2 separate regions of the Homo sapiens genome follow, and region 2 is linked to region 1. The links are contacts of gene promoters, found by promoter capture Hi-C in human tissues and cell types (Jung and others, 2019). All regions are on one chromosome and are shown on one strand. The core of a region is centred on a gene start or on the middle of the fragment in contact, and the rest is flanking DNA. Distances in the headings are between cores, read along the strand shown. Region 1 holds the start of CDR2L (cerebellar degeneration related protein 2 like). Region 2 overlaps GRB2 (growth factor receptor bound protein 2).

Region 1 (4,148 bases), core at 946-3,445:
CCCTGGATTCAAAGTTCTTCAGGGATCAGAGGAGGCTTTTGCAGAGGCTACATACCAACCCAGCTTCTCCCCCACCAACCCTGCTTCCCTCCCTTTCCTGCAGGTGTTGATCATGAGAGCACTCCCTAGTCAACTTTCTTTCTTTTTTCTCCCTCTAATCCAATATGATTGATATCCCTAATCAACTTCCTGCATGCTAATCTCCATCTCAGGATCAGCTGCCTGGGAACACAACCTACAACAGCTTACGTTATTCAGCTTTCATGGTTATCAAGCAGTCTTTTTTTTTTTTTTTTCCAAGACGCAGTCTTGCTCTATCGCCCAGGCTGGGTGCAGTGGCGCAATCTCAGCTCACTGCAACTTCCGCCTCCCAGGTTCAAGCAATTCTCCTGCCTCAGCCTCCCAAGTAGCTAGGACTACAGGCATGTGCCACCATGCCCAGCTAATTTTGTATTTTTAGTAGAGACAGGGTTTCACCATGTTTCCCAGGCTGGTCTTGAACTCCTGACCTCAAGCGATCCACCCTCCTTGGCCTTCCAAAGCGTTGGGAATTACAGGCATGAGCCACCACGCCCGGGCAGTTTTCTAAAGTGGTTGTCGTCCTATGTATTCCCTCCAGCAGGGTGAGAGAGTTCCAGTTGCTCAACATTCTTGCCAATACTAGGTATTTTTTGTCTTTTTTTTTTTTTTTTTTTTTTTTTTTTTGAGACAGGATCTTGCTCTGTCACCCAGGCTGGAGTGCAGTGGCATGACCACAGCTCCCTACAGCCTCAACCTCCTAGACTCAAGCAATTCTCCCACCTCAGCCTCCCAAAGTATCTGGGACTACAGCCGTGTGTCATTATGCCCACCTAATTTTTATTTTTAAATTTTTTTATAGAAATAGGATCTTGCTATGTTGCCCAGGCTGCTCTTGAACTCCAGGCTCAAGTGATCCTCCCAACCTCGGCCTCCCCAGAGTTCTGGGATTATAGGCATGAACCACCACGCCTGGCCTTTTTTTTTTTTTTTTTTTTCCCTAAAGCCACTCTGGTGATTGGGTAGTGATACCTCATTGTGGTTTTCATTTGCATTTTTCTGATGGCTAAAGAAGTTCAGTACCTTGTTGCATATTTATTCAGTTATTTGTGTATCCTTTTTTGTGAATTACCTGGTCAAATCTTTTACCCACTTTTCTACTGGGTTGCGTGCCTTTTTCTTATGACTATGCAGATGTTCTTTCTGTATTCTGGATACAAGTCATTCGTTGGGTATATCACAACATTATTCAGAGATTCTCAACGGCACCAGCACATTAGGGTCCCAATAAAAATGAGTTACGTGAATGCTTGAGTCCGAACACTCTTCTAAGGAAAGAATGCTTGGACAGATGCAAGTGTGTATAGTTTTAATGGGTATAATTGGATATAGGATATGGGTCCCAAGGAAAGGAAAACAGAACCTTGAATGCAGGTAACACACCCTCAAACTTTGCCACTTTCAGCCTGTGGTTTCTAGCCACAAGCACTTAAACACGCAGTTCCCAAAGGCAACTGTAAATTAGTATTCATTCATTCAAAGAATGTCGATGGAAGGTATCAATGACCAGCATGTTGTTTGTTTTTTGTTTGTTTGTTTTTTGAGGCAGAGTCTCCCTCTGTCGCCCAGGCTGGAGTGCAGTGGCGCTATCTTGGCTCACTGCAACCTCTGCCTCCAGGGTTCAAGCGATTCTCCTGCCTCAGCCTCCCGAGTAGGCATGCGCCACCATGCCCAGCTAATTTTTGTATTTTTAATGGAGACGGGGTTTCGCCATGTTGGCCAGGCTGGTCTCGAAACCCCTGACCTCAGGCGATCTGCCCGCCTTGGCCTCCCAAGGTGCTGGAATTACAGGAGTCAGGCATCGCGCCCGACTGGTGAGCAGCCTGTTCTAGGAAGTGAGTAGCCAGCTGTGAAAGAGAAACAATATTCTTGCTTCCAGGAGATCTAGGAGAGACGACAACTTCTAAAATAGCATAATTTTAGACATGAGACATAAACTGAATAGGTCGTAGGGGGAAGTAGGACGAAAGGGTTGATCAAGCAATTCCCAGACCAAGACACCAGGAGGGTCCCGCCCTCGGCCCCGCCTCCAGCTTTGCATACATCTCCTGATTGGTCGGCGGCGGCAGGCCCCACCCCGCGGAGCCGAGCTCCGCAAGCTGCAGGCGGGCTCCGCCAAGATGCAGCGGCGGCTCCGGTTGTCGCCGGGCGGGCCAGGAGCAGCGCGGACCCGAGCCGGGCAGGGGGCGCCCGCCACGGCACCCGCGCGCTCCTAGCGCCCCAGACCCGCCTGCGGGCCCGGATCCTCCTTGCCACTGTCCCACCCGCCGTCCCTGCCACTCCACCCTTTGTGTCGCCGCAGCCCGGTGCCCCCGGCTCTGCGGGACCCCGGCCGGGCCGGACCCTGGCAAAGCGCCAGGCCCCGCGTGGGCTCCCGGCGAGCGGTTGATGGCGAGGGGGCGCGGCGCGGGCTCTGTAGCCCGAGTTCCCGACGCTGGAGGCCCGGCCCGCCTCAGCCGCATTGTCCCGGGCCGCGCGCACCGGCCCTGAGCTGCGCCGCCGCAGCACCCGCCCGCCGCCCGCGGGGCCATGCGGAGAGCCGCCGGGATGGAGGACTTCTCCGCGGAGGAAGAGGAGTCCTGGTACGACCAGCAGGACCTGGAGCAGGGTGAGCGCGGGGGCGACCGGGACAGGAAGGCGGGGAGCGCCCGGTGACCCCTGTCCGCTTCTCCATTGTTGGGCGCTATCACCCCGGGAGGGGCTGGGCTGGACCGGGCGCGCCCGACTCGGAGGAGGGACGCGTCTGGAGAACCGGGACGTGGAGAGAGGGGGCGCTGCCGGAGAAGACGCGGACCGGACGGGCGGAGACCTGCAAAAGTGGGGGGCGGGGGGCGGTCTTCCTATTTTCCCAGACGACCGGGCATCCGTCATCCAGCTCGCCCACCCCGTCCTGGAGGCAGCAACTGCTCGGCCGCCCCTGGTATTGTTACGGGGCCTGAGCGCTAGCTAGGAGTCTTCTGAGGCCGGGAGGCGGCTCCTTCGTCATGTTTTGCTGGGAGGGTGGCTTGTGTGTAGAGGGAAGTTATCTCACGCCAAATCCAGCAGCACCCGTCCCTGACAGGAATTATGAGCTCTAAGACTCCTAGAAAGTTTCCCTAACTCGCTTCCTACTCAGGGAGAAGTGGTACCGCGTCTTTGCTGGTGAAGAAGCAGAAAGTCAAGTCTCCCATCTGCCTTCGAGAGTCAGGAGTCGCTTAGCCCTCCCCTGCCCGGTCCCCTTGCAAATGGCTCATGGTTTGGAGGGGGTCAGGTTCGGGAATCCCGGCCAGTGTGCCAGGCGAGAGACCGAATAAAGAGGGATACATCTCCGCTGCCCCCAGTTGCCATCTGAGGACAGAAAGGGCGACTGGAAGGGGGTTAGAAGCTGGTGATGAGGTGGCCGAAATGACATCACTGGGAGTGGGGGGTGGGGCTGTTGGGACAGAAAGGAAGAGGAGGCCTGCTGGAGTGGAGTCAGTTCTATCCTCTCCTCCCCTAAGATGCCTCCTTCTTGGATGGTGAGAGCTGGAAGGGGCGAGGAAACATGTCCAGGGAGAAGTGACCTTCCCATGGCCTCCAGCAAGCTGGGGGGTGTGGACATAAGTCTGCTGCAGTTTGTGCCATTGTGGCCTGCTGTGGTGTGCCCACACCCTGGTCTCCATCCACAAGGCTCCAGAGGGCTGGCTTTGCCCTGATGTGCAGCAGCTATCCGGATTCTGAAGCCCCTGACCTACTTCCCCACATGGCCAAGACTGGCTGGCAGATGAGGCTCTGTCCTTGTGCTGAGGACAAGGGTTAATCATAGCCTCAGGGGGACCAGGGTGGGACTGGGGATGCTGGACTAGGCCCTGCCATGGTCTGTGCCCTGGACTCTGGCCTCAGCCTCCTTGGCTGAAATGAGATACAGCTCCTCTCAAACACACACACACACACACACACACACACACACACACATCCACACATTGTGACAACCCCCTCTCCCATCCTGGGCAGTAAATTTTTCCATGAACACCTATTAGGCTCCCCTTAAGTACCAGACACCATCCTGGGAGCTAGGAATAGTCACAGCCCTGACCCTGAAGGTATACCCT
Region 2 (4,150 bases), core at 833-3,332, 400 kb after region 1:
CCCGTCTCTACTAAAAATACAAAAAATTAGCCGGGCGTGCTGGTGGGTGCCTGTAGTCCCAGCTACTGGGAGGCTGAGGCAGGAGAATGGCGTGAACCCGGGAGGCAGAGCTTGCAGTGAGCCGAGATCGCGCCACTGCACTCCAGCCTGGGTGACAGAGCGAGACTCCATCTCAAAAAAATAAAAAAATAAATAAAAATAAATTTTAAAAGATCTTTTCCTGTTCTAAAAAAATTTTTATATACCATCTTGTACTGTTTCACATATTAATCTCAATTCTCTTACTTGAGATTTTGGAGCTTCTGAAGGGAGAAAGTACATCTTATATTTCTCTCCCAACTCTCAAAGCAACTTATCCCAGTATCTGGCTCAAGAGATGCTCAGTCAGTGTGACACTGAAATAGGCCAGGCAGTGCTGAGACAGAATGCTTTGAAGATCTCAATGTGAACTCAAGACCTGTTTTTAAAGTAGTTTAAGAAACTGGTAAAGGTAGTTAGTGCCAGAGAGGGTAGAATACACCTAGATGATCCAGGCTGGCTCTCCACTAGAGCTGAAGAAAGCAAGAGGCTGGCTCTAGAATGGAATGAGCACAGATCTGAGAGCTCAAAATGGGTCTCTTAATTCCTATAAGCACAGTTTGAAGTATGTATACATAAGCCCCTAAATGGCAGTTGCAACTCCTAGGTAAGTTTTATGTGCTCTAGTGTAGACTATTTAGGGGTCTTGTCAGTGGAGAACCTCTGGGACTGTCTCAAGCCTGCCCTACAATGGTGGGAGGAATTCTGATGTATTCCAACCACACCAGGCCTGAAACCTGCAGTGGAAGGGCAATTCCTTCTATTTTACATCCCAGTGTCCTCTCCCTCCCCGAGCCAAGAAAAACACAAGCTTTTATAAGAGAGAGAAACAAAGGCAGACATATTGAACCATTCAACTCTATTTTAGGCTTCCAGTAAAATGCTTTTATTTTTTCCTCTTTTTCTCTGGACAGTAACAGGTCAATGTGTAGACAGAAAGTAGGGAAGGGGTCTGCTGGAGGAGAGGAGTCACCATTTTTAACTAAAAGTTAACCAGGAACTCCAAGACAGGAGAAGATGTGATCCTTCTGAACTATAGACAGAGGATGAAGGCTAAGTGCCTATTTCATTATCTTGAAATGAAACTTATTCAATATCCATATGCACGTCTCCTTTATCAAGAGAAGGCATATATATGCCTATTTCAATGAAAGTTAAATTGTTCAATGCTATTCCAGCAACTTTTAAAACATGTTTTGGCTTACAACTAATACCCTCAAGACGTCCCAAATCAAAGCAATTCAAATGAAGCCAGTTTACTTCTTGAAGAATCAAATGAGGAAAACTCCGTTTTTTTAACTAACAGCTTTTAAGAAAGCATGTTCCTCCTCTTCACCCAGCCATTTCACACAGTTATGAGACAAAGGGCAACTACTGTATCGTCACTCTTTTTTTTTTCTTTTGGAGTAAAGCCACAACATTACCAACAAACAGCTAATGGCCACCGTTCAAAAGCAATAATGGCATTATGACTTCATATCTCAGTTATCTACCAAATTGAAAAGAACCACATATATGTATTTTTCTCTCTCCTCAAAGAAAATCTAAAAGTGAATGTGAGTATTCTGATTTACTTTCTCCTCCATAATAAAAATTTCTGAGGGACTGTTAAACAGGATCTTCTTCCCTAATAATAGGATGGGAAAGAAGGTTTTTACACTTGCTCCAGAATTTACTAATTTAAGTTAAAGAATTTATAAAATGTTCATGGTCTAGGTCTAGGACAAACTTCAAAGACAGAAATCAGGGAAAGTTCTTGTTTAAAAATTTTAAAAAAAGGCTGGGTGCAGTAGCTCACGCCTGTAATCCCAGCACTTTGGGAGGCCGAGGTGGGCAGATCACGAGGTCAGGAGATTGAGATCATCCTGGCTAACATGGTGAAATCCCATCTCCACTAAAAATTCAAAAAATTAGCCGGGCGTGGTGGCGGGCGCCTGTAGTCCCGGCTACTCGGGAGGCTGAGGCAGGAGAATGGCATGAACCTGGGAGGTGGAGCTTGCGGTGAGCCCAGATTGTACCACCGCACTCCAGCCTGGGTGACAGAGCGAGACTCCATCTCAAAAAAAAAAAAAAAAAAAAAATTCTTAAAAAGAGACCGCATGCCCCTAGTTTTGTTTTAATTTGTTGCTTCAGTGCTTAATGTGCAATGGGACAGATTTAGAGAAAAATATGAACCACCAGCCTTCTAGGTTCAAGTTTCTAAGATAAACTTATGAAAAAATCTAAGTTTGTATCAAAAACAAAAAATACTAGCCCAAAAGGGCTTTTGTACAGGCTATAGATGTGGGCATTTGAGTAGCCCATCTTATACCATCACAAGTGGGTTATCTACAGAAAACAGTAATCACCTACAGAAACATCAAATTACCTCTCCCATACACCAATGAAAACTGAGGAATTTTGTAGTCTAAGTTAACTTTGCCCTGATCTCTAGCTGGGCATATTTTCTCTAGTTCAAGAAAATAGAAACCTAGTTTCTAGAAAATGGTTCCGTCTGCTTTCTGACAATTTAGTGTTGACTTTGAGAATACCCTCGAAAAGTGTGGTGTCACAAACACAGCTTTGAAATGAACACACAGACACAAAGTTTTCTTCTCTTTAAAGGGCTCTGCAGCATCATCTTCTATGAGGCTCAACCTACATTTCTAACATTAAGAAATTACTGGGCAGTTAACTTCAGAGTAGAACTCTACGCCTTGGGCAATGAGGGCAAAATAAAGACTATCAATAAGTCCACATAACTTAAAAGTAAAAAGACTGCACGTCCTTTTATAAAGAACCATATTTCTACATCTCCACTTGCTTTCTCTTCATAAAATTCTAAGAATTTCATTCAGGGGTAGTAAACAAATGAGGTAGCAAATTCCAACAATCAGTCTAAGGCTCAGAAGGAAAAATGTCAAAACTTGAGACACAGGGAACACTCAAACATGAAGCTTCAGCCTTTCCTCCTTTAAAGTTAACATACTCTTTGATAACACTCATCCTCGTTAAAATAAATTACACATCCAAAAGAGCAAACTGCTACAGTCAATTGGGTAAACAACATAATTAACATGTGCTGGGGGAGAGCGAATCCTCACATAAATAGTGGGGCTCAAAATAAGCTGCACATGGTATAGAAGCTGATTTTTAAACTGTCAGCAGGTTTCTTTTCGTGCAATTAGAGTTTAATATGGGGTAATTGCTCCTCAAGTTTCTTTTAAGAAAGTCGAAATCTGACTTGTACAATAGCAGGTTGCACCTTATTATTTAGAACTCCATTTGTTTTTTCACAAAGAATAAAAATACACTGAAGTTCTTTAATGAGTTTTGGTATGTACTTCTAACAACCTCTCTAAACTGGGAAAATTAATTTCTAACCTACCAAAATCATATTCCAGAACGCAAAATCCTTTGGCTATACAAAGTAAGACTAACTGAATGCTTTTACATAAATACTTCAGGTCTGGGTCTTTTTAAAAAATGCTATTTTTAAAATAAAACTCTACAGGGCAAATCAATCTACTCATATACTTCCTTTCTACAATCACATTACTTTGACTTTACTTGAAATATTACCAGTATCAACAGACAAATGAGGCATTCACACAAAGGCAGTTAAACACCACACATCACACCAACTCACTTAAGTCATATTTAATATTCTACTCAGCATCTAAAGCTCTCCAGAACAAATATGATGGTAAATGTTAAAAGTGTACAATGAAAAACACAGCTTCTTTGTGTGTAATCAGGGCGAAAGAAGGTGGGTGAGCACAGGGAGAGCGATCTCAGCATTGTGCTCGGCATCAGCACTTACCTTGAGGATGTCCCCCCTTTTGAAGCTCAGCTCGTCGTCTGCAGTAGCTTTGAAGTCATATTTGGCGATGGCTTCCATTCTGAGCGCTGCTCAGTGCTCAGCAGCCTGAAGCAGGGGGAAGGGAGTCTTCCCTGCTGAAGCAACCCAGCGCTCTGGGCTTAGCCTCGCCTCTCTTCTGGGACTCGCTCCGGCACTCTGGGACACACAATGCCACCCTGAAGCAGGAGAGGGACGATTAAGAGCAGTGGCCAGGATTGAAGGCAACCCCGC

What was found. The method cuts DNA at HindIII sites, captures the fragments that hold promoters and counts their contacts. A contact is called where the count stands out against the background at its distance.
Region 2: a fragment that was not itself captured here is called in contact with the fragment with the promoter of CDR2L in region 1 in 1 of the 25 tissues and cell types used here (spleen).

What each region holds. Positions count from the first base shown.
Region 1 is chr17:74,985,437-74,989,584 of GRCh38, forward strand. CDR2L (cerebellar degeneration related protein 2 like) reads left to right here and starts at 2,196. Exons shown (of 5, transcript NM_014603.3): 1 at 2,196-2,686. The coding sequence starts at 2,608. RefSeq lists an enhancer at 2,034-2,535 and silencers at 2,102-2,181, 2,202-2,291. The HindIII fragment of the contact is 16,458 bases long and covers 1-4,148 here.
Region 2 is chr17:75,389,671-75,393,820 of GRCh38, forward strand. It overlaps GRB2 (growth factor receptor bound protein 2), which reads right to left. Exons shown (of 6, transcript NM_002086.5): 2 at 3,881-4,095. The coding sequence starts at 3,958. Among named protein-coding and RNA genes, the nearest start is that of GRB2, 14 kb to the right of the region's middle. The HindIII fragment of the contact is 6,103 bases long and covers 1-4,150 here.